Linked DNA regions of Homo sapiens: regions 1, 2, 3, 4, 6 and 7 are each linked to region 5. The links are contacts of gene promoters, found by promoter capture Hi-C in blood cells and fetal thymus (Javierre and others, 2016). All regions are on one chromosome and are shown on one strand. Each heading gives the region's core, a stretch centred on a gene start or on the middle of the fragment in contact. The rest is flanking DNA. Distances are from core to core; before and after follow the strand shown.

The links. Contacts are between HindIII fragments. The CHiCAGO score rates a contact against its expected background, and 5 or more counts as called.
Region 1: a contact is called between a fragment that was not itself captured here and the fragment with the promoter of SNX14 in region 5, in 4 of 17 cell types (M2 macrophages, non-activated CD4 T cells, total CD8 T cells and 1 more). The highest score is 13.6, in M2 macrophages.
Region 2: a fragment that was not itself captured here is called in contact with the fragment with the promoter of SNX14 in region 5 in 1 of 17 cell types (monocytes); the score reaches 6.2 in monocytes.
Region 3: a fragment that was not itself captured here is called in contact with the fragment with the promoter of SNX14 in region 5 in 7 of 17 cell types (non-activated CD4 T cells, total B cells, naive CD8 T cells and 4 more); the score reaches 22.7 in non-activated CD4 T cells.
Region 4: a contact is called between a fragment that was not itself captured here and the fragment with the promoter of SNX14 in region 5, in 5 of 17 cell types (M1 macrophages, M2 macrophages, total B cells and 2 more). The highest score is 12.3, in M1 macrophages.
Region 6: a fragment that was not itself captured here is called in contact with the fragment with the promoter of SNX14 in region 5 in 1 of 17 cell types (non-activated CD4 T cells); the score reaches 14.2 in non-activated CD4 T cells.
Region 7: a fragment that was not itself captured here is called in contact with the fragment with the promoter of SNX14 in region 5 in 6 of 17 cell types (total B cells, total CD8 T cells, naive CD8 T cells and 3 more); the score reaches 14.7 in total B cells.

The regions. Positions count from the first base shown.
Region 1 is chr6:82,229,038-82,232,405 of GRCh38, forward strand. IBTK (inhibitor of Bruton tyrosine kinase) reads right to left here. Exons shown (of 29, transcript NM_015525.4): 4 at 2,681-2,805. Among named protein-coding and RNA genes, the nearest start is that of IBTK, 17 kb to the right of the region's middle. The HindIII fragment of the contact is 1,716 bases long and covers 684-2,399 here.
Region 2 is chr6:88,967,438-88,970,430 of GRCh38, forward strand. No RefSeq gene overlaps it. Among named protein-coding and RNA genes, the nearest start is that of RNGTT, 5.3 kb to the left of the region's middle. The HindIII fragment of the contact is 4,896 bases long and covers 1-2,993 here.
Region 3 is chr6:89,082,643-89,085,917 of GRCh38, forward strand. PNRC1 (proline rich nuclear receptor coactivator 1) reads left to right here. Exons shown (of 2, transcript NM_006813.3): 2 at 1,111-2,518. The coding sequence ends at 1,554. Among named protein-coding and RNA genes, the nearest start is that of PNRC1, 3.5 kb to the left of the region's middle. RefSeq lists enhancers at 1,865-2,392, 2,393-2,919. The HindIII fragment of the contact is 4,237 bases long and covers 1-3,275 here.
Region 4 is chr6:82,189,271-82,192,541 of GRCh38, forward strand. It overlaps IBTK (inhibitor of Bruton tyrosine kinase), which reads right to left. Exons shown (of 29, transcript NM_015525.4): 24 at 2,517-2,609; 25 at 1,803-1,946. Among named protein-coding and RNA genes, the nearest start is that of IBTK, 57 kb to the right of the region's middle. The HindIII fragment of the contact is 2,484 bases long and covers 528-3,011 here.
Region 5 is chr6:85,592,214-85,595,157 of GRCh38, forward strand. SNX14 (sorting nexin 14) reads right to left here and starts at 1,645. Exons shown (of 29, transcript NM_153816.6): 1 at 1,366-1,645. The coding sequence starts at 1,505. RefSeq lists enhancers at 136-721, 722-1,305, 1,306-1,889, 1,338-1,507, 1,818-1,937 and a silencer at 1,568-1,787. The HindIII fragment of the contact is 2,215 bases long and covers 908-2,944 here.
Region 6 is chr6:88,950,900-88,954,042 of GRCh38, forward strand. The region is part of intron 1 of RNGTT (RNA guanylyltransferase and 5'-phosphatase); the gene reads right to left. Among named protein-coding and RNA genes, the nearest start is that of RNGTT, 11 kb to the right of the region's middle. The HindIII fragment of the contact is 1,522 bases long and covers 971-2,492 here.
Region 7 is chr6:82,249,731-82,252,670 of GRCh38, forward strand. No RefSeq gene overlaps it. Among named protein-coding and RNA genes, the nearest start is that of IBTK, 3.5 kb to the left of the region's middle. The HindIII fragment of the contact is 4,001 bases long and covers 1-2,940 here.

The sequences.
Region 1 (3,368 bases), core at 292-2,791, 3.4 Mb before region 5:
GTATAATATAGAATCAGCCCCTTTTCAATAACAAATGGGGCTCTCTATATAACTGGTACTCAATTAATATTCCCATACTTGCTTTCTCTTCCCTGACTGAAATTTATACTGATTTCTTTCCTTCAAACCTACCCACTGTGCTTGCTTCACCCTCATTCTGTGGTAAATAAAATCCCTTAGATCCTTAATACCTTCACAAAACACGCCCACTGCCTTGCCTTACCTGAAATGTGGCTTTCTCTTTGAGTACACTAGTTCACTCACAACCCTGGCAAATGGAATATGCTCAAATATTCCAAACTATATATTTCTTTGGATCAGACATTTCAATCACCCTCTGATTTCCTAATGCCATCATGATTCCCTCACTCTTGTCTTTAAAATCCCTGCTCCGTAACAGCTCATGAAATAAAGGTATATCATGTACTACCTCAAAAAAGGAAAAACAGGTGTCTTTCTTGTGCCACAATTCCAATCAATCATTAGTGGCTGCTAATGGTTGGATTATCATTTTAAGGAGGAGTCTGAGGACCCACTCAAGCTCAGCATGAGAAAAAAAAAACTGACTAGCATGTCTGCAAAAAGCTCTAGACTAGGTGAGCAGCTTGTACACTTGCTGCCCCTGCTCTGATTTCTCACCATCTTGCTCACCCCTCTCACATTCACTAAAGACTTGGACACCAAGCTTGATTCTCGCCCATCACAAGTCCTTTCATTATCCTAAGTTCCCTCCACATCTACAGAGAAGACCCACAAGAATATTAGCTTTCATGACACCATTCTACTCCCTACTTCTCTAGCCACTTTTCATTCCTATATGGGTTTTTATTCCTGTTCTCTCAAAATTTAATATTCTCTAGAGTTTAAGGATTCTATTGCTTTTTTTGTTCAATTGCTGGTTGTGATGCATTAGGTTGTGACTTTTAGTTTAAAAAATAGTGTTCTATGGAGCCCTAAATATAGTGGTCATATTATTTATCATGCAAACATTTTTGAGAATGAAAGGGGATACTAACAATTACACTAGGAAAATAATCATAAACCAGAACTGTCCTGGGCAAACTAGGGATATGTTGTCAAAGTAGCTCTAAAAACTGTCTAAGAATTCAATCTCAGGATATAAACTAAGTGTTGTTATGTATGTCATATATAAATAATAGGTGAAAGTTGGAAAGAGCCAGTACTATAGTGATAAAAACACTCCAAGCTCATATTCTGGATCAAAGAAGTTTTATGAACTTCAAAATGCAGAAAGAATATAACTAGGAAGTTGTAGGAAATGTAAGTTGAAATGGTAATTTAGGAAGACTGAAAAAGTTCTTACATTCCAAGCCACAGAGTTTGGACTTTATCCAAAGGTGACTTAGTAGATAAACACATAATTAGCTCTTTTTTAAGACAAATAATTCTGGAGAAGAATATTATTGGGGTTGAAATGAATGGAGCCAAAAAGTCAAATTAGGACACTGTTGTCACTGTCCAAAAAAAGAGCTTGAAAAGGACATGGCACCTAGGTTCATGAGACAGAAAAGAACTAAATAGACATGCTCTGAGGTATCATCTTCAGGATTTAGAATTTGAGATTTATAACATTAAAAATTGAATAGGGTAGTTTAGGAGTGGCAAAAATAACACTTCAGACATTCTAAATTTAAATATCTTGAAAGAATACCCACAGTACAACTGAAATAAAGTTCAAGAGAAAGACTGGGGCTAGAGATACACATACATACACACATATACACAATGTAATACAGAAAGATTTGTCAACAGTAGCTGTATCTGGGGAAGTAGAAGATATCATGCATTGTAAGGATATAAGACCACAGACCAAATCTTTACAATTGTATCTATTAAAATTTTACAATTACTTACATTTAAGAACTCAGGTTCACAAAAAGCATCACTCGTGCCTAAGCATCTAAGGGCAAATTTTTGAACCCCACACTTCCAAAACATTGCTTATCTGTCTCCATAAGTGATGAAATTTTAGTTCTATCTACTATCCAAACTGAGAACTGAGACTTAGACATTTAATTATTTATTGCTTGTCAGTGTGAATACAAATAATTAAATAGAATGACTGGCAGTTTACCAGACCCTCAGTTAAAAAACTCTATAGCCTTTCCAGACTGCTGTCATCCAACTTCACATAAGATTAAACATATTCTCTTCATGATAAATAGCTTGGAACCTAAAAACATTATTTTGTTACAAAAAATTGCAAGAAGTGTGTTGTTTTCTAAATTGAAATTATTTTATTTTTTAATGCCACCAAAAAAAAAAGAACTGTTGTTCACTTATCAAAAATAACACTGAGCTTCAACAACAAATTCACTTGAGAAACAGCTTACAGAATTGTAATGTTTGTTAAATAGAAAAGCTAGAAAATCAAGAGAAGCTTTACCCTCTTAAATTAAACTACTATCTGTATAACATTTTCTAATTTCTAACACTAATTGCACAAATATCTTATATTTTAGGGTATTTTACAAAGTCTAAATATAATTAAGGCTAACAATATCTAAAATAAAATTAGCAAAGTTCTATTGATTGATTTCCTCATTAAAATGTTACTGTACCTGAAACAAAGTTATGTAATCCACATGAAAAGCTGAACAATCAAATACAAAAGTTCTTTCTCATCTCTAAAAGTATATAGATTGTACTTCAAAAATACCTGCTTGATATAAATCCCACTCCTGGAGAACAGATCCACCAACTCTGGATGATGTTTGCTATTCTGGCTTCCATGACCCAGGGTAAAATTTGTATTATCGCCCCAAGTATAAACATCTGTAGGATCTAAAATAAAAATTAGTTTTTATACTTTTTTATATTTTAAAACACATATAAGAACTAATTTAACTACAATATTTAGAAAGATGCCAACGCTCTTCTCTGAATGAATATATTAATATGATATTAGGTAATTCTAGAAATAGAAAATCCAAATCATAGTACAGGCCTGTCTCAATGCAAGCAATCAAACATTTGTTCCTTGCTTCTTTTTTTTTTGTTGTTGTTTTTTTTTAATAATTGAGACAAGGTCTCATTATGTTGCCCAGACTGGTCTTCACCTCACGGGCTCAAGTGATCCTCCCACCTCGGCCCCCCAAAGTGCTAGGATTACAGGCATAAGCCACTCTGCCCAGGCTGTTTCTTGTTTCTTTAGCAGCTAAAGTTTAACTGCCAAATGAGTAAAACACCACCGGCCATATCTACTTAGTTTCCATGAAAATAATATATAGAACTGTATCAAATGTAAGATATTATTAATCCACACATACAAAGGTTCTAAATGTTGCAAATGTGATATTACTCTTTGTACAGGAACACTAACTTTCAATACTTTGTTTTTCATAGAC
Region 2 (2,993 bases), core at 203-2,702, 3.4 Mb after region 5:
AACAGATGTCATCAAAATGTAAATAGGTGGACTAAATTATGCAGGTTAGGTACTAGTCTTGCTAAATGTTTTAATGTTATAAACTGCTTTTTGAGTTTTGAGAACTATCTGACTTGCTGGCTTCACAATTGATAAGGCCTGGGGACATATGGAACTAACCATGTCATTAATTATGCTAGAAGGAGTCAAAACTTCGCTGCACCTGGCACACAATTAAAACAACTTACCAGGTTTTACATTAAAGTTAAAATTGCTAGGAGTTACCATTATAATGTATAATTGAAACTACTGAAAATAGATTTACATGCAAGGTGTGTAAGAACAGTAAAATGTGTTTTTTAGTAAAAGGTAATGGAAGGCATGGAAATGTAAATTTTTGCCTAGGGTTAGGGAATTGTTTTAAATTAGGTAAGATAAAGCTAAAGGTTTAAACAAGTTCTGGAAGGTTAAAATTAATCTTGCAAAAGAAATGCTGTGTGTGAACATTGGCTAAATTCAAAAGTAAATTGAGCATTGAAATAAAAGCACAACAAAGTTTTCTTAAGGCACTAATCTGCACTTTAGCAAAATTTGTAAAGGGTTATAAAAAGTTTTTGCTTCTTTAAAATTTCTGAGTAATTTTGGCAAAATAAATAATTTATGGAAATCTGGAATTCTATTTCATAACATCAAGTGTTTTAAACCACTAACATATTTAACAGGCTTCCCAAAAATCAAACTTCAGTTTCAAAATTGTCTTTCCTGACACCTGGCTTTTCAGAGGCTCCAGAAGGACCCTAGAGTGTCCAGAAGAGAAATGTAAACAGGATTAGTTGACATGTTTAGGTATGTGGGATTGCCAAAATAATGTTCAGTTTTCTTTTTTTCTTTTCTTTTTTTTTTTTTTTTTTTTTTGAGACAGAGTCTCACTCTGTAACCAGGCTGGAGTGCAGTGACACGATCTCAGCTTACTGCAACCTCCGCCTCCTAGGTTCAAGTGATTTTCCTGCCTCAGCCTCCCAAGTAGCTGAGATTATAGGCACCCACCACCATGCCCAGCTAATTTTTTTGTATTTTAGTAGAGACAGAGTTTTGCCATTTTGGCCAGGCTGGTCTTGAACTCCTGACCTCAGGCGATCTACCCTCCTCAGCCTCCCAAAGTGCTGGGATTACAGGCATGAGCCACTGCACCCGGCCCAGTTTTCTTTAGGTTATATTATTGTGAATAATACTAATATATGTTCCAAAATTGTATGGGATTTCTAAAATTCTAATGTCTGAGATAACCAAACTTCTTTGTCAATTGTGTTTCTAACTGTAACTACCCTGGACATTTTGTTATTCACAGACAATTGTTGTCTTGTTTTAATCCTTTTCAAAAGATGATTTATAATGAGCTATAGAACGTTAACAGGTGCTCTCAAATACCAATTTCTGATGACTTTGGAGATTGTAACAAAAGGAAAAATGTACAAGACTCACAAAGAGCTGAAATGTTCATGAATATCAAGCAAATCAAGAACTAAATTGACTGAACTCAGAAAGCTGAAGCAATCTTTTTGACTTTTGCTTAGAATATTGCTGACCCTTATTTTTCAGAGTCAAGGAAACTTACTTTGAACTATTTACACCCTTTAATAATTGAGTAAGGTATACTCCTGTGAACAAAATTTGGAGTATCGGGGGAACCCACCCCCAGTATTTCAATGAAGGTGCTTTCTATTTTCCCTAAGTGTCGGCCAGTCTGAGAAATAAAGAGAAAGAGTACAAAGAGAGGAATTTTACAGCTGGGCCACCAGGGGCGACATCACATACCGGTAGGTCCATGATGCCCACCTGAGCCGCAAAACCAGCAGGTTTTTATTAAGGACTTCAAAAGGGGAGGGGGTGTATGAACAGGGAGTAGGTCACAAAGATCACATGCTTCAAAGGGCAAAAAGGAGAACAAAGATCATATGCTTCTAGGCCAATAAATATCACGAGGCAAAGGGCAAAGCAAAGACCACAAGGCAAAGGGCAAAATCAAAAACTCCTGATAAGGTTCTATGTTCAGCTGTGCACATATTGTCTTGATAAATATCTTAAACAACAGAAAACAGGATTCAAGAGCAGAGAACCAGTCTGACCTCAAATTTACCAGGGCAGGGTTTCCCAATCCTAGTAAGCCTGAGGGTACTGCAGGAGACCAGGGCATATTTTAGTCCTTATCTCAACTGCATAAGACAGACACTCCCAGAGCAGCTGTTTATAGACTTCTCCCACCAGGAATGTATTCCTTTCCCAGGTTCTTAATTATTAATATTCCTTGCTAGGAAAAGAATTCAGCGATATCTTCCCTACTTGCTTGTCCGTTTATAGGCTCTCTGCAAGAAGAAAAATATGGCTCTATTCTGCCCTACCCAGCAGGCAGTCAGACCTTATGGTGTCTTCCCTTGTTCCCTGAAAATCACTGTTATTCTGTTCTTTTTCAAGGTGTACTGATTTCATATTGTTCAAACACACATTTTACAATCAATTTGTACAGTTTGACACAATAGTGGTCTTGAAGTGACGTACATTCTCAGCTTATGAAGATAATAGGAATAAGAGACTAAAGTAAGACAGGCATAAGAAATTATAAGAGTTTTATTAGGGAAGTGATAAATGTCCATATTAAAATGAAATCTTCACAGTTTATGTTCAGAGATTGAAGTAAAGACAGGCATAAGAAATTATAAAAGTATTAATTTTGGGAACCGATATATGTCCATATTAAAATGAAATCTTCACAATTTATGTTCCTGTACTGCGGCTCCAGCCAGTCCCTCTGTTCGGGGTCCCTGACTTCCCGCAACATTGGAGCATATTTGTCTCTCTGCCTGGCTTCTCCAGAATTTGGAAACTATCTGTGAGTATTCTTAACTTATGGCAATATAGTTGTTTGCATCAGCGCAGTAAGAATCCATTTTTCTTTTGCAACAGGACACAGTTGGAGAAACTGGTTATTCTACCAAGGCTTTGACTGAAGGGTATGC
Region 3 (3,275 bases), core at 738-3,237, 3.5 Mb after region 5:
GTGTTGGTAGTGCAGTGATCTAGTGGATTACCTTACGCTTTTCCATCCTTTCAAGACTTCCTATAAGGCCCACTTAAGTTGGGAAAGATTAAGGTGAGTGAAGCAGCGTTCTTGAAGCAGTTACTAAACCAGAAAGGAGGTACACAGCAAAGATTGTTTCTGGCACTCGTATTTGGAAGAGAGCTCATTAGTCTTCCTTACAGTTGTAGAAAGGTGGACTTGGGTTATTTCAGACTTTTTTTAGTTTGACATTTTAGAACTGGTTCACGTTGCATACTGGTAACTAGCAGTGGTGATTAACTGCATTTTTAGTGGCGAACAAGAGTGAACTTAAAAGTCAAGGGAAATTTAAGTTTTTTGTTGTTTTTTTTTTCTTGAGACAGAGTCTGCCTCTATCGCACTCCAGGCTGGAATGCAGTGGCACGATCGATCTCTGCTCACTGCATCCTCCCCTTCCCAGGCTGAAGGGATCCCGCCTCAGCCAGCCTCCCGAGGCGCGTGTTACCACGCCGGGCTGATTTTTATATTTGTAGTAGACATGGGGTTTCGCTATGTTGCCCAGGCTGGTCTCGAACTCCTTGAGCTTGAGCGATCTGCTTGCCTTGACCTCCCAAAGTGCTGGGATTACAGGCGTGAGCCACCATGCCCAATTAAAGTTTTTGTAATTTTCAGCTTTTATTTTAGATCAAGGAGGTACTTGTGCAGGTTTGCTACATGGGTATATTTCGTGATGCTGAGGTTTGGAGTATGAATGATCCCATTCCAGGTAGTGAGCATAGTACCCAGTAGGTCCCCATCTCTCTCTCAACCCCCCTTCTAGTAGTGCCTAGTGTCTGTTGTTGTTCCCCACTATATCCATGTTGTACCCAGTGTTTAGCTCCCAAATTCACTTGTAAGTGAGAACTTGCGATATTTGGTTTTCTGTTTCTGCATTAATTCGTCTAGGGTAATGGCCCCCAGCTACATACGTGTTGTCACAAAGAACATAATTTTGTTCTTTTCTATGGCTGTGGGCAAACTTAAACACAACAAAACTAGATATGTGATATGAGGTTCATAACTGATTTTTATCTAGAAACTATATTTACTTTTGTGTTCTTGTCTTTGTAGGTTTTAAAATCAAAGATGGGAAAATCGGAGAAAATTGCCCTTCCCCATGGCCAGCTTGTTCATGGTATACACTTGTATGAGCAACCAAAGATAAACAGACAGAAAAGCAAATATAACTTGCCACTAACCAAGATCACCTCTGCAAAAAGAAATGAAAACAACTTTTGGCAGGATTCTGTTTCATCTGACAGAATTCAGAAGCAGGAAAAAAAGCCTTTTAAAAATACCGAGAACATTAAAAATTCGCATTTGAAGAAATCAGCATTTCTAACTGAAGTGAGCCAAAAGGAAAATTATGCTGGGGCAAAGTTTAGTGATCCACCTTCTCCTAGTGTTCTTCCAAAGCCTCCTAGTCACTGGATGGGAAGCACTGTTGAAAATTCCAACCAAAACAGGGAGCTGATGGCAGTACACTTAAAAACGCTCCTCAAAGTTCAAACTTAGATTTCAGATTTCAGTATGTGTGTAAAACATAATTTTTCCCATATCCCTGGACTCTTGAGAAAATTGGTACAGAAATGGAAATTTGCCTTGTTGCAACATACAATTGCAAAAGATGAGTTTAAAAAATTACATACAAACAGCTTGTATTATATTTTATATTTTGTAAATACTGTATACCATGTATTATGTGTATATTGTTCATACTTGAGAGGTATATTATAGTTTTGTTATGAAAGTATGTATTTTGCCCTGCCCACATTGCAGGTGTTTTGTATATATACAATGGATAAATTTTAAGTGTGTGCTAAGGCACATGGAAGACCGATTTTATTTGCACAAGGTACTGAGATTTTTTTCAAGAAACAGCTGTCAAATCTCAAGGTGAAGATCTAAATGTGAACAGTTTACTAATGCACTACTGAAGTTTAAATCTGTGGCACAATCAATGTAAGCATGGGGTTTGTTTCTCTAAATTGATTTGTAATCTGAAATTACTGAACAACTCCTATTCCCATTTTTGCTAAACTCAATTTCTGGTTTTGGTATATATCCATTCCAGCTTAATGCCTCTAATTTTAATGCCAACAAAATTGGTTGTAATCAAATTTTAAAATAATAATAATTTGGCCCCCCCTTTTAAAATAGTCTTGACTCTTTGTGTGTGACTGTTTCTCATGTTTGAATGTGTGACTAGGAGATGATTTTGTGTGGTTGGATTTTTTTGACTTCTACTTTACTGGCTGAGTGTGAGCCGCCATGCCTGGCCATAATCTACATTTTCTTACCAGGAGCAGCATTGAGGTTTTTGAGCATAGTACTTGACTACTCTAGAGGCTGAGACGGGAGCATCTCTTGAGCCTGAGAAGTGGAGATTGCAATTGAGCTAGGATCAGGCCACTGCACTCCAGCCTGGGTAACAGACGCTGTCTCAAAAAAAAGGCCAAGAGAAAGTAAGGGAGACAGATTTTGAGTGGGAATGTTAAGCAATCAGGTCAAGTAAAGAAGATCGAATATACAAAGGAACTTCTGTTTGATGTTTTGTGTGAGTCACCATTCCTTCCTTACAAATGCAGATACACCTTCCTCACAAATGGAAGGGAAGCTCATTTAGAAGTTTAGTTTGAAGATGCCCCCAATTTTTAGTCACCAATTTTAGCTTTTGTTAGTAATGTGTTGTAAATATTAATACTAATGACTGACTACAGTGAGTTCTGACATCTCTCCCAAATCAGTTTGTGATTCTAGAAAGGGACACATTAACAGGTTTTAACAACACATTTTTGCACATGGTTATAAAAATTCCTACACAATGTAATATAAGTCCTACCGCCTCAACCACCCTTCTTTCCTTGTCCAACATTTCTCAGCTCTTGTCATTTTGAGCAGTATGTCTGCAGTTTAATGTGTGAGGGCTTATGTGTAACGTATGTTCAGGAAATAGAAGGATAAATGGCAGAGCTGAAAGTTTAGGTGGGATGGGGAGAAAAGACAAATATAACTAAAATACAAGCTATATTCCCCACTCTACAACAACAAATGCCTGAAGAGAGAAAAAGGTAAAGTCTCTTAGGGTGAAGGGACTAATTTTGGTGAGAAAATTTTCTCTTTGGGAATCTGACACCTTAGAAAGTAACAGTGAGTTGAGCTGGGCATGGTGGCTCACGCCTGTAATCCCAGCACCTACGGAGGCTGAGGCGGATGGATCACGAGGTCAGGAGTTC
Region 4 (3,271 bases), core at 520-3,019, 3.4 Mb before region 5:
AAGAAAAGATCCTGTAAACTTTCAGGGAAAAAAAAAGTGGAGAAGAAAACAGGAGGTAACATAAGAAGATTTAGGAATTAAATGGCATTGAATAAATTCTCCAAATGATTTCCAATTTAGAATCCCGTTCCCATCTATCAGTCAAGAAGAATGAAGGCTAGAATAAAAACATTTTCATGAATATACGAGCTCCAAAAATATATGTCTTATACATCCTTTATCAGAAACCTACTGGAGTTGTGCTACATCAAAACAAGGAGTGTATCAAGAAATAGAAAACCACAGGATCAAGAAAACTGGGGATCAAACACTGGAGAGAAGGGAAGACCTGCAAGACAACAGTTAAAGAAAATCTCAAGATGACAGATATTCAGCATGCCTGGAAAAGACCCGGTTCAGATCACAAAAGAGCACAGGACTCTAAGGAATATGCCTCCAAAAAAATAAGTGAAACAACTTTCACTCGTTCACTTTTTGCTTAAGGAAAATGATTGATGGCATGCTTACAGCTATATTACCAAGTCCAAAGCTTCATCATGAGCTTAGTTAATTCTCTCAAACTGCAATTTAGTACTTGACAGTGGTTCCAATAACTTTTCCCCCTTTTTGGATTTTCCATACCTTTGTTTAAAGAAAGCACAACTCAGTATTGCAGCAGTCATATCATAAACCCTACAAGGGTAACAGTCAAATCTGTCTTGTTCATTGCCTTATCATCAGAAACTAGCACAGTCCCTTACATTTAGAAGGTGCTTAACAAATACTGATAAATTTTAAAATTCTGCTAAGCTCATCCTCTCCAGTTTTACCCTCTTTTCTCTTTTCCTTGGGTGTTCTTACCTCTTATTTTACTTTCTTTTTCAGTAACCATGCTTTGGACCTACTAATAGCCCTAACAAGCACTGATTTAGTTCCATTGGTAACATTTAGAATAAAATTATTTGCCACTTTCTTCAAAATAATTAACATTTTAATTGAGAAAAATATTCCTTCTTACAAACAGAATAATGTGGCCTTAGAAACATTGAAAGGATTCCCCTAAACCATGGGTAGCTGCCAAGATCCTCCCCAGTCCTTGTGAGAGAAAGAGAGTTCTACTGATTTCTTCGTAAGGCTTCACATTCTCCATGTAGTTCTCCAGTATTGGTTTCCAGATATTTTAAGTTACAAGAAAAGGAAGGATGGAACGGAAGCTGGAGTACAACCTATTTTACATATCTCAAAATTATATCTGACCTCTTTGGAGGTTATTCCAATGCTGCCACTATGTGTAAATTCCAATGGAGAAAATGTAAACACAACATTAAGTAAGGAGCAGTGTTTTAAAAAGTGAAAAATAACAAGCTATGATTATAACCATGTAAAGATATTTATGGAGCATGCAGAAGGACAAAGAAATTAGCGTAGTATAAATAAAGTTTTCTTTTTATATGTGTCTGATGTATTTAATTTCTTATAAAAAATAAAAATAAATTTTAAATCACTTTAGCAAGAAAATCTAATTAGAATATCAAGAAGAAATTATATCTATATATGAAAAATATATCCACATTTTGATGTGTATGATGATGTGTGTCATCATGACTTGTATGTCAAAACACCCCAAATTAAAAGAAAATAAACAACAACAAAAAAAGTGTTTGTTTCCCAAGTTCCAATTTTTAACTTGAAAACAGAAGGGGAGATAAAATACTTGAAAAGACTTTAGAAACACTGGAAGTGGGAAGGAACTCCAAAGTCAAGTACTACCTTAAAAGCAAATGCACAAATCTATATTAATTTTAATAAAAATAAGAGCATACCATGCATTCACTGGTTTGGGGGCTTTTGAAGGAGTGAATAAAACTGTTTCCATGCTATTCATTCCTGAATTGTTTTCCTTGGTAGTCAATGCAATCATTTTTCGTTGCTTCTGAGAAAGTTTAACTCCATGAGAAACTGTTTTGCTAGAAATTAAACCAATTAGTTTCAGTGGTTTCTTCTGACAAAGTTTAATTCCATGAGAAATCATTTTGCTAGAAATTATATCAATTAACATTAATTTCTGCTTAATAAAGGTTACTGGTAATAATAATGTTTTCTATTTATTTCATGTTATTTTACCATTATTGGATCAAAATGCTCACAAGTTTCAACAATGAAAATATCAGTTTATACTAACAATGATCAAGTAATAGCTACATATGAGCCCTCCAACATATCACAAATTTCAAAAAGAACTTGCATCACAAGCCTTAACTCTTTGGCTTTTGTAGCCAATAGTCCACAATGATCATTTTAGAGTCAAGTTTCTGGGATGTAATACTGTATTCTACAAGAGCTGGATTATCAACTCAACTCTATCTTTAGCACATATTTAAGAAATAATATTATGGAGGCTAAATTGCCCAGAAAAGGATGTATAATTAACTATAACATCAAATGCAGAAAAATAATAAGAAAGATGCAGTAAGTCTGTCCAATTCTTAGGGCAGAAATACAACATGAAATGATCTTTTGTAATGTTTTCAACCCACCCTAAATGTGACTTTGGTGTAGCTCCACATTTTTGTCTACTTTCTTCTATTTCCATGATAGTTCTGAGATCCACAACAGGAGGGCTGACAGGACTAAAAGACATAAAAGGTTACTTTGCAAAGCATTCATTTACCTATAAAGCCCAACCCCCAACTTCACTGAAATGATAAGTGATATGTGAGATTAATAATCAGAGTATAATTTAGATTTATCAGCTGTGAGCCAGTTTCATAAAGGATATTTTGAATAAAAGCTACTTTTATATACACATATATAAATATTAACTAATATATATCCAAAATGTTAAGTGATATAGCACATATACAAATAACAACTAATATGTATCCAAAGTCATAATGTTGTGATATAACTGAAATTCCTATATTTAAAAAAACATTTTTTAAAAAAAGTGAAGCAATAGAAAGATTCTTAACTAAATTAGGCAGAAAAACTCACCAAAGTTCTAATTAAATTCTTACCTTTAGGTTAAATGAAGCTTGAAAATTACATTCTTTCCTTTCTATTTTTAACAAACAAAACTCATTCTACTGTTTAATATTAACAAAAACAAACATTTAATAGAAAAACTTGGGGATACTAAATAATATTGGAGACCCACCAGAGGAAGTTATACCATAATGACAAAATTCTACAATCATTAGAAATAGATGATTTCTGGCCAGGTGTGGTGGCTCAAGCCTGTAATCCCAGTACTTTGGGAGGCCGAGGCGGGTGGATCACCTGAGGTCAGGAG
Region 5 (2,944 bases), core at 395-2,894:
TACTATTTAAGCTCAATAATATTTAAACCAAGAATCAACAAGAAAGCAAGGCCACTTTTAGGGAAGAAATCTAACTTCAACATAGTCACAAATAATGGTTACACCAGAGAAAAATGAAGTTACCAAATTCCTTGCGCATTCCTCCCTGTTGCTATCCTTGGGAATCAACTACCTTAAGATAAAGAGTAAGAATGGTTGCCTGTTCAAAACATCAGAGAAAACAGCTTGCGGATGCTGTCAATGAGAACTATCTCAGATTTCTTTCCACCAAAAGCAAATCTGGTGTTAATTTTAATGGAAAAGTCTCCTCTACTACCTATTGCATCGCAACAATTTCTTGAAATAGTAAAATGAAGTAAAACAAGTTTATTTCGGGGGCAGAATCTTCTGATTTCAAAATGTCAATTGAATTTATCAATTTTAACCTTTCGGAATATTTCAGGTTTTTTTGGGGAGGGTGGCATCAAGTCCTCTTAAGAATATTATAGGGATGTGGCCGGGTGCGGTGGCTCACGCCTGTAATCCCAGCACTTCGGGAGGCCGAGGCAGGCGGCTCACGAGGTCAGGAGATCGAGACCATCCTGGCTAAAACGGTGAAACCCCGTCTCTACTAAAAAAAAAAAAAAAAAATACAAAAAAATTAGCGTGGTAGCGTGGTGGCGTGGTGGCGGGCGCCTGTAGCCCCAGCTACTCGGGAGGCTGAGGCAGGAGAATGGCGTGAACCCGGGAGGAGGAGCTTGCGGTGAGCCGAGACCGCACCACTGCACTCCAGCCTGGGTGACAGAGCGAGACTCCGTCTCAAAAATAAAAAATTCTAAGGATGTTGGGACGGGTACCACTTTGCTTTCTGATTTCTGTCCAACAAATCTTTATGATCGTCTGTTTTATTCAACAATACTGCGGGAAAAGCTTCAGCTGCAAGCTGAGGGGGTGGGAGGTGGGGAGATGGAAGAACGCGCTGCAGGTGTGCGGATTCTGCCTAAAATTGCGGCTACGAACTGGACCTTGAACACTCCTCCGTCAGCTGACTTGACTGCCTGTGTACAGTCTCAATTTGAGCCGACACACGGATTTCACTTTTGAAAAGCAACGAAGATGAAGAACTCGTTTTGAGAAATGGATGAGAAAAAGGTAGCTCAGGAGACGAAGCCTCGGGAAAGGAGGCAATCAACCCCACCCCACCGGCCTGTGCTTCCGGCCTCGACGCTCCGCCGTGCTCCCCGAGGCCGCTCCTCTGCGGAGCTCGCTCTCCCCACTGGTCCCCAGTCCCGCAGCTACGCGGCCTCCGCACGGTTAAGCAGCACGGGCCGGGCGTCTGCACCTTCGGAGAAAAGCCGCCGCCCAGGCTCCGCGCTGCGGCGTTACCTGTTAAGAAGCAGGGAGGCGGCGCTGAGACAGAGCAGCAGGAAGCAGAACAGCGGGTACTGGCGGCAGATCTCGCGTCCCACGTCCAGTCGCAGCCGCTGCTTCAGCTTCTGCCCCATCGTCCGCACCCAGGGCACCATCTCCGTAACGGCGAGGCCGAGACTGCGCTACTGGCTGAGGCAGAGGTCAAGGCGACCCCCCATCCACACCTCGCGTCCCCGCCCCACCGACTTGGCGGCGCACACAGACGCCTACCGGCAGTTAGCCGCCGCAGGCTGAGGTCGCGTCCGGCTGGGCCCAGCCCCACGCCCCCCGCCGCGCGTGCGCGGCCGCGGTCCCCAGCCGACCAGAGGAACGGCCGTAGAACGTGCCCGAAGTCGTCACCCAGCGCAAAGCCTCTAGCGTCTCGCCGCTCCGCCCTCCTGGCCGGAGTAGCGCGCAGTCTTCCGTGGAAACTCTGACAACACTGGCGACCGGCCATTTCCGGAAATCAAAGGACAGCCCCAGCACCCAGTAACTGCCTGTATTGCGGAGGAGAGGGAAGAAGGTTGTAGGGAGCCCGGAAGAAACTACAGCACCCCCGTAGCCGCCGGGCGCTGCCTGAGGGGCAACCGGAGCTCGTGGAGCCCGCTGGGAACTGTAGTCTTCGTGACACGAACCCGCAGAGGGATGGAGCGGGTGGTAGCGCTTCCCCGACCCCGCAACGCTCCGCGCCTCACCGTACACTCGGCTCCGGGTGGGAGCAGGTCCGAGCTTTGCGTGACGCCTAAGGGAGAGGGGGATAGGAGGACGCCTTTGAGTCGGTATTTTAAAAGGGGTGTGTTGGGGGCTGGGGGGGTGGCGAGTAAAACAGCCCTAGAATAAAGACTACAACTCATCAGGCCGCCACCCCACCAACAAAATCTCTTTTGCGCGCTCACGGGCAAGGGTAGAGCTCAATTCACGCCGGCTCCGGGAGCCCAACCAAAATCCGAGTGCTTGGAAGAGGCAGGTTGGCAGATTAGGTAAAATCCCTCTTATAGAGTCTCATGGGGTTTTCCCTTTACTAATTCATCACATTTCTAAATTTTTTTTTCTGTATTGTCCGCTACAGTGAGAGATGCAGGAAGACTATTATCGCGAAAATTTACTTAGGCGGTACAGACACTAAGCACTTTCATTTGACCTTCATGCATTCACCCCATGGTGTAGGTACAGTACTATAGTTTCAATCATTATACAGGCAAATTACTGAGACAGAAAGGAACTTAGGATCATAAAACTAACAAAGCCGGAATTTGAACACGTTCTAAAGACAGAGCCTGTGCCTGTCATCTCTCTTTCCTAGGATCTTATCCTTCAAAGTGGGGAAACAAATGTTTTTTAATGATGTATGTAGTTTCATGAATATTTTCCCGTATTACAAAAACATGGATCTTTAATGATGCATTATTATCCTTTATCAGAATGTACCATCCTGTTCCATTATTGCTAACCACTAAAGTCCATTGATATTACCATCCTTGATGATAAACCTATGCACATTTCTAATTATTTAGAATCAACTTTAATACAATTACTGGGTCAAAGGGTAAAAACA
Region 6 (3,143 bases), core at 482-2,981, 3.4 Mb after region 5:
TCAGGCTGAAATACAGTGGCGCGACCTTGGCTCACTGCAATCTCCATCTCCCGGGTTCGAGTGATTCTCCTGCCTCAGCCTCATGAGTAGCTGGGTTTACAGGTGCCTGCCACCATGCCCAGCTAATTTTTATACTTTTAGTAGAGATGCAGTTTCACCATGTTGGCTAGGCTGGTTTTGAACTCCTGACCTCAGGTGATCCGCCTGCCTCGGCCTCCCAGAGTGCTAGGATTATAGGTGTGAGCCACCGCACCTGGCCAATACAAACATTTTTTAAAGTGGAGCCTGAAGACGTGACCAAATTGCTGCAATCTCATGATAAAACTTTAACAGATGAGGAGTTGCTTCTTACAAATGAGCAAAGTGGTTTCCTGATATGGAATCTAGCCCCAGTTAAGATGTGAATATTGCTGAAGTGACAACAAAGGATTTAGAATATTACATAAACTTGATTGATAAAGCAGCAGCAGGGTTGGGGAGAATTGACTCCACCCCTGAAGAAAGTTCTACCATGGCTAAAGAAAGTTCTACCATGGCTAAAATGCTACAGAGAAATCTTTCATGAAGAGTCAATCTATGTAGCAAACTTCATTGCTCTCTGATTTCAAGAACTTGCCACAGCCAAACAGATCCGTTGAAAGAAGCCAGACAGTGCTGTAAATTCCACGAGACAGGCGAAAAACCATGAGCTCCCAAAGTGTGAGAGGGGGGATAAAACCTGCCTCTGAACACACATTCCCCATTGGGGAATCTGAAAATCCAGATCACAGGAGAAGGATTTAATCTTACCTACAGCTGAAATGGATTTAGAGAGCCGAGTGAAATATAAAAGTAGAAGCAGCAGCAGGAAGAGCCTTGTAGGCACTCCCAGTCTCCAGCTCAAGCCCAGGGAAGCCATTCCTGACTACATCTCACAGGGGCCCTCGGGGAAAGCAGACAGCAGAATTAGGGAGGGTCATGGGGGGAAAAAAGCTTCCAAATGAAACTCATAATAATTTTGACCAGGCATGAATTTTCTTAAGCAGAATCCAGGGAATGAACGGGAACTGCTGCAGATATGAGCACAAAAGCTGCCCAGTGGGCAGACAGGGAGGCAGACAGGGAGGGGTAGGGCCTGAAAGCCATGCTCGCTTTCTCAGTGGGGAAACTTACATTCAGGGGCAAGGTCTGAGGAGTGAGGGGGTGCACCACAGAAGTAAGACCAGCCTCACCAACTGCATGGGAGCTGGGTGAAGCCTTTCATTACCAGCTATCCCCCACTTCCCTGGCAAACTATATGACACAGCAGAGGCAGCCATAATCCTCTCTGGAACATAACCTGTTGGCCCAAGAACCACCCCCCATCCCCTACAGTGGCTACAGCAAGCCCCACCCAAGGAGAGTCTGAGCCCATATCCACCTAATCCTTCCCCTACCTGATGGTATTTCTCTACCTGCCCTGGTTGCTGAACACAAAAGACAGAAATTCTTGGGAGCTTTATGCCCCACCTATTGCCTGAGAAACCAGAATACTAACCCTGGCCAACTTAAGACAAACTTAGATCCCCCAACTAGCACCACAGCTAGTGCTCTCTTGAAAGCACCACCTCCTGGCTGAAAGCCAACTAACTCAGGCCATTACAGCAACTCATGACAAAATAATCCTGCTCCCAGGAAAGATAAAATAACAGCTAATATACCACTGCCTGCAACATCCTGGCTAACCAGAGGTCCTGAGTCTGTTCACATGACAACTTCACTACTAGCATAACCAGCATTTGAGAAAGCCGACACATTAAATATATCTACAACCAAGGACTCTCACAGAGTCTACTTACTGCCCTGCCACCCCTACCAGAGCAGGTGCTGGTATCAATGGCTGGGACACCTGAAGATGGATTACATCACAGGACTCTGCAGACATTCTTCAGCACCAGCCTTAGGGCCTGGTAACTCCACAGTGTGACTAGAACCAGAAGAGCAATAACAATCACACCAATCCAGCTCTCAGGAAGCCCCAAGCCCCATCCCTAGAGGAAGGGAGAGAGCACAACATCAAGGGATCAGCCTGTGGGACAAAAGAATCTGAACAGACGCCTTGAGTTTCAGACCTTTCCACTGAAACAGTCTACTCAAACGAGAAGGAACCAGAAAAGTGATTCTGGTAATATGATAAAACAGGGTTCTATAAAACGCCCCAAAAATCATACTAGCTCCCCAGCAATGGATCCAAACCAGGAAGAAATTTCTGAATTGCCAGATAAAGAATTCAGAAGGTTGATTATTCAGCTATTCAAGGAGATACCAGAACAAGGTGAAAATCAACTTAAAGAAATTTTAAAAAATACAAGATATGGATGAAAAATTCTCCAGAGAGAAATAGAGATCATAAAGAAAAAACAATCACAAATTCTGGAAATGAAAGACACACTTAGAGAAATACAAAATGCACTGGAAAATTTTAATAATAGACTAGAACAAGTAGAAGAAAGTACTTCAGAGCTCGAAGACAAAGCTTTCAAATTAACCCAATCAGACAAAAACAAAGAAAAAAAATTTTAAAAATGAACAAAGCCTCCAAGAAATGTGGGATTATGTTAAACAGCCAACCCTAAGAATAACTGGTGTTCCTGAGGAAGAAGAGAAACATAAAAGTTTGAAAAACTTATTTGAGGAAATAATTGAGGAAAAGTTCCCTGGCCTTGCTAGAGATCTAGACATCCAAATACAAGAAGTTCAAAGAACACCTAGGAAATTCATCACAAAAAGATCATTACCTAGGCACATAGTTATCAGGTTATCTAAAGTCAAGATGAAGGACAGAAACTTAAGAGCTGTGACACAATAGCCTCAGATAACCTATAAGGGAAAACCTAACAGATTAACAGCTGATTTCTCAGCAGAAACCTTACAAGCCAGAAGGGATTGGGGTCCCATCTTTAGTTTCCTGAAACAAAATAACTGTCAGCCAAGAATTTTGTATTCAGCAAAACTAGGCTTCATAAATGAAGGAGAGATAGTCTTTCTCAGATAAACAAATGCTGAGAGAATTGGCCACTACAAGAAATGAAAGACACACTACAAGAAATGCTAAAAGGAGTTCTAAACCTTGAAATAAAACCTCAAAATACACCAAAATAGAACATCCTTAAAGCATAAATTTC
Region 7 (2,940 bases), core at 241-2,740, 3.3 Mb before region 5:
GCATGGTGGCGCACGCCTGTGATTCCAGCTACTCAGGAAGCTGAAGTGGGAGAATACCCTGAGCCCTAGGAGATCAAGGCTGCAGTGAGTCAAGATCACGCCGCTGCAACGAGTCAAGATAACGCCACTGCACTCCAGCCTAGGCAACCGGAGTGAGATCCTGTCTCAAAAAATAGTAATAAATAAAAGTTAAAATTACCAGGTCTCGGACAATTTGTGGTAAGCATTGGGGATCCAACAGTGAACAAAAATACATGTAGACCCAGATATTCCCAAGCATAATAAATTGCAACGTTTATAAGTATTAATCTGATAGATTTATCTGACTTCCAAAAGATGTGACACATGAACTAAAGACTGAGCAGAAGATAACTCAGATAACTAGATAACGAGGAGATAAGTAGATGAAGCAGGAAAGAAATAACATTCCAGTCAAAGGAATGTAGAATTGCTCCCCTTTTCCCAGGAAAGTTAGATGCTTTCAAAAGTACTTACTGGTTATTTGCAAGACAAAATATTAAAATAATTAGGAAATAGTACAAATGAAATACAATTAAATGAAAAATATATTGTAGATGTGGTTAAGGGAGGAAGAAATCAAAATGAGCCATTTTGTTTGATTTTTAAAAAAATTTTGTGTTTACACATGAAAGAATAGGTCAAAATATATCTACAATGATTGTTTCTATGGTGGGATTATGGGTGATTCTTAATTTCTATCATTTTGACTTTTGTAATTTTCATTGCAATAATTTAAATATTACTTGAATGATTAAAAAAATCAAAGTTTGGAAAAATAATTGACTAGAGTTTCTAAAGTAGTTTTATTTTTTAAAGTAAAAAATAAAAAAACCAGAGATGACTTTAAAAGATTGCAGTGATGGGCCAGGCACAGTGGCTCATGCCTGTAATCCCAGGAGGCCGAGGCAGGCAGATCACGAGGTCAGCAGATCGAGACCATCCTGGCTAACACGGTGAAACCCCATCTCTACTAAAGAATACAAAAAAAATTAGCCGGGCGCAGTGGCGGGCACCTGTAGTCCCAGCTACTCGGGAGGCTGAGGCAGGAGAATGGCGTGAACCTGGGAGGTGGAGATTGCAGTGGGCCAAGATAGCGCCACTGCACTCCGGCCTGGGTGAAAGAGCGAGACTCTGTCTCAATAAATAAATAAATAAATAAAAAGATTGCAGTGATGGGCGGAGGGAGTAGAAAAAGAATAGTACAGGCATCAAGAGTGGAGCACTGCAGAAATATTTCTAAGCCACATGGCATCTATAATAAACTCCCTAAATACCATTTTTCCAAAATAAATTGGTAGTACTATCCTTTATAATTAAAAGTACTGACATCATTATGTGTATTTTGCTGTCTTTCAAGTTGTATAGGAGTAGGAAATGACAGTGCTGGTGGCAGAAGAGAAAACACTAGAATTTGATTAGAAACCCAAACCTGATTAGGTTCTACAAGAATGATTTTTAGAGGAAGATCAATAGTGCAGCTGGCCTAGAGATGACTGGAACCTTATTGTTTAGCCTCATTCTCTTCTACTCCACACCATCTTCTACAGGACATCACTGGTTGACTACAACTTTCTGGCACACAAATTAAGTACCTCACATAAATCACATATCTCACCTCAGGTTTGCCATTAGGGAAGATAGCACTGAGCCTATTATCTCAAGCACAAAAGTTCTAGGCACCTGACGGACTCATGTCGGCTTGGATTAGGTGAGGAATCAAGGATAACATGATTGACATCCTCTATTAGAGTCATGGTTAAAGCAGAGTGAAGAGTAGTTCCCCAAAAGAAAGCAGGGTGAGGCAGACAAAACAATAGGCCACATAGGGTGTTTGTGTTCTTCTGGATTCAGGTGTATGGTCCCAGCTGCGTTCTTCCTATAGAATCATTATCTTTCCAATCCTTACTTACAGAGGGTCACCTCCCCACATATCTGTGAAGACTTTCCGGATGGCCTTTCCTAGCAATTATTCCCTTTATACTGCTTCTATCACTTAGTCATATAATGTATCACACTGTTTTATTTTTAGATTTGTTAGTTTTACTCCTGGAGACAAGGATTCTAGAGGCAAGGTGCCCAGATATAAAGTTTTACTCCTATGCTTACTATCTGTGAGATGTCAGGCAAGTTACATAAACCCTCTAAGCCTAGTTTCCTCATCTCTGAAATAGGGTTAATAGTATTGCTTTCATAAAGTTCTTAAGAAGTTTAAATGAGATTTTATATATATATATAATATAATGTATATATTATATATATGAAGCTCTTAGTACAACTCTTAGCAACTTAATTGACATAACCTGAAATGAACTGCCTGGATGAATCTGTTTCCACCAAATTAAAGGGTGGGATGGGGAAACAAAGAATAACCCACAAGGTGGCAGTATTTGAATGTAACTTTAGAATCTTATGTTTAAAAGCATAGTCCACCAAAAAAATCTGAAATTCAAGGCAAATACTGGAGAAATTCAAGGTAAATTCAAAGCCTAGATGAAATAAGCAGAACTTTGAGATAAATCAAACTTATAAACTTAACAGGCTTAGTATTCTATTACAATCAGAACACTGAACTCCTAAAAGTCTTCCCTTTACGATGACTGAAAAATGTATCATTTGCCTTTCTCAGCCCATCTTACTGAGAATTGCTCCTATTCCTTTTCTACTTAGCTAAATAATTAAATCTGTGTTGTCACTATTAGAAAGAGAGAGAGAGAAGAAAGAAAAAGAGTGAGTTTGATACATAGTGGTTGGAGCCTTCTCTTCATGCCATAAATCCCTAGGACTGATAGAAAAGACATACTTAGGCCGGGTGTGGGGGCTCACACCTGTAATCCTAGCATTTTGGGAGGCCAAGGCAGGCAGATCACCTAAGGTCAGGAGTTTGAGACCAGCCTGGCCAACATGGTACAACCCCATCTC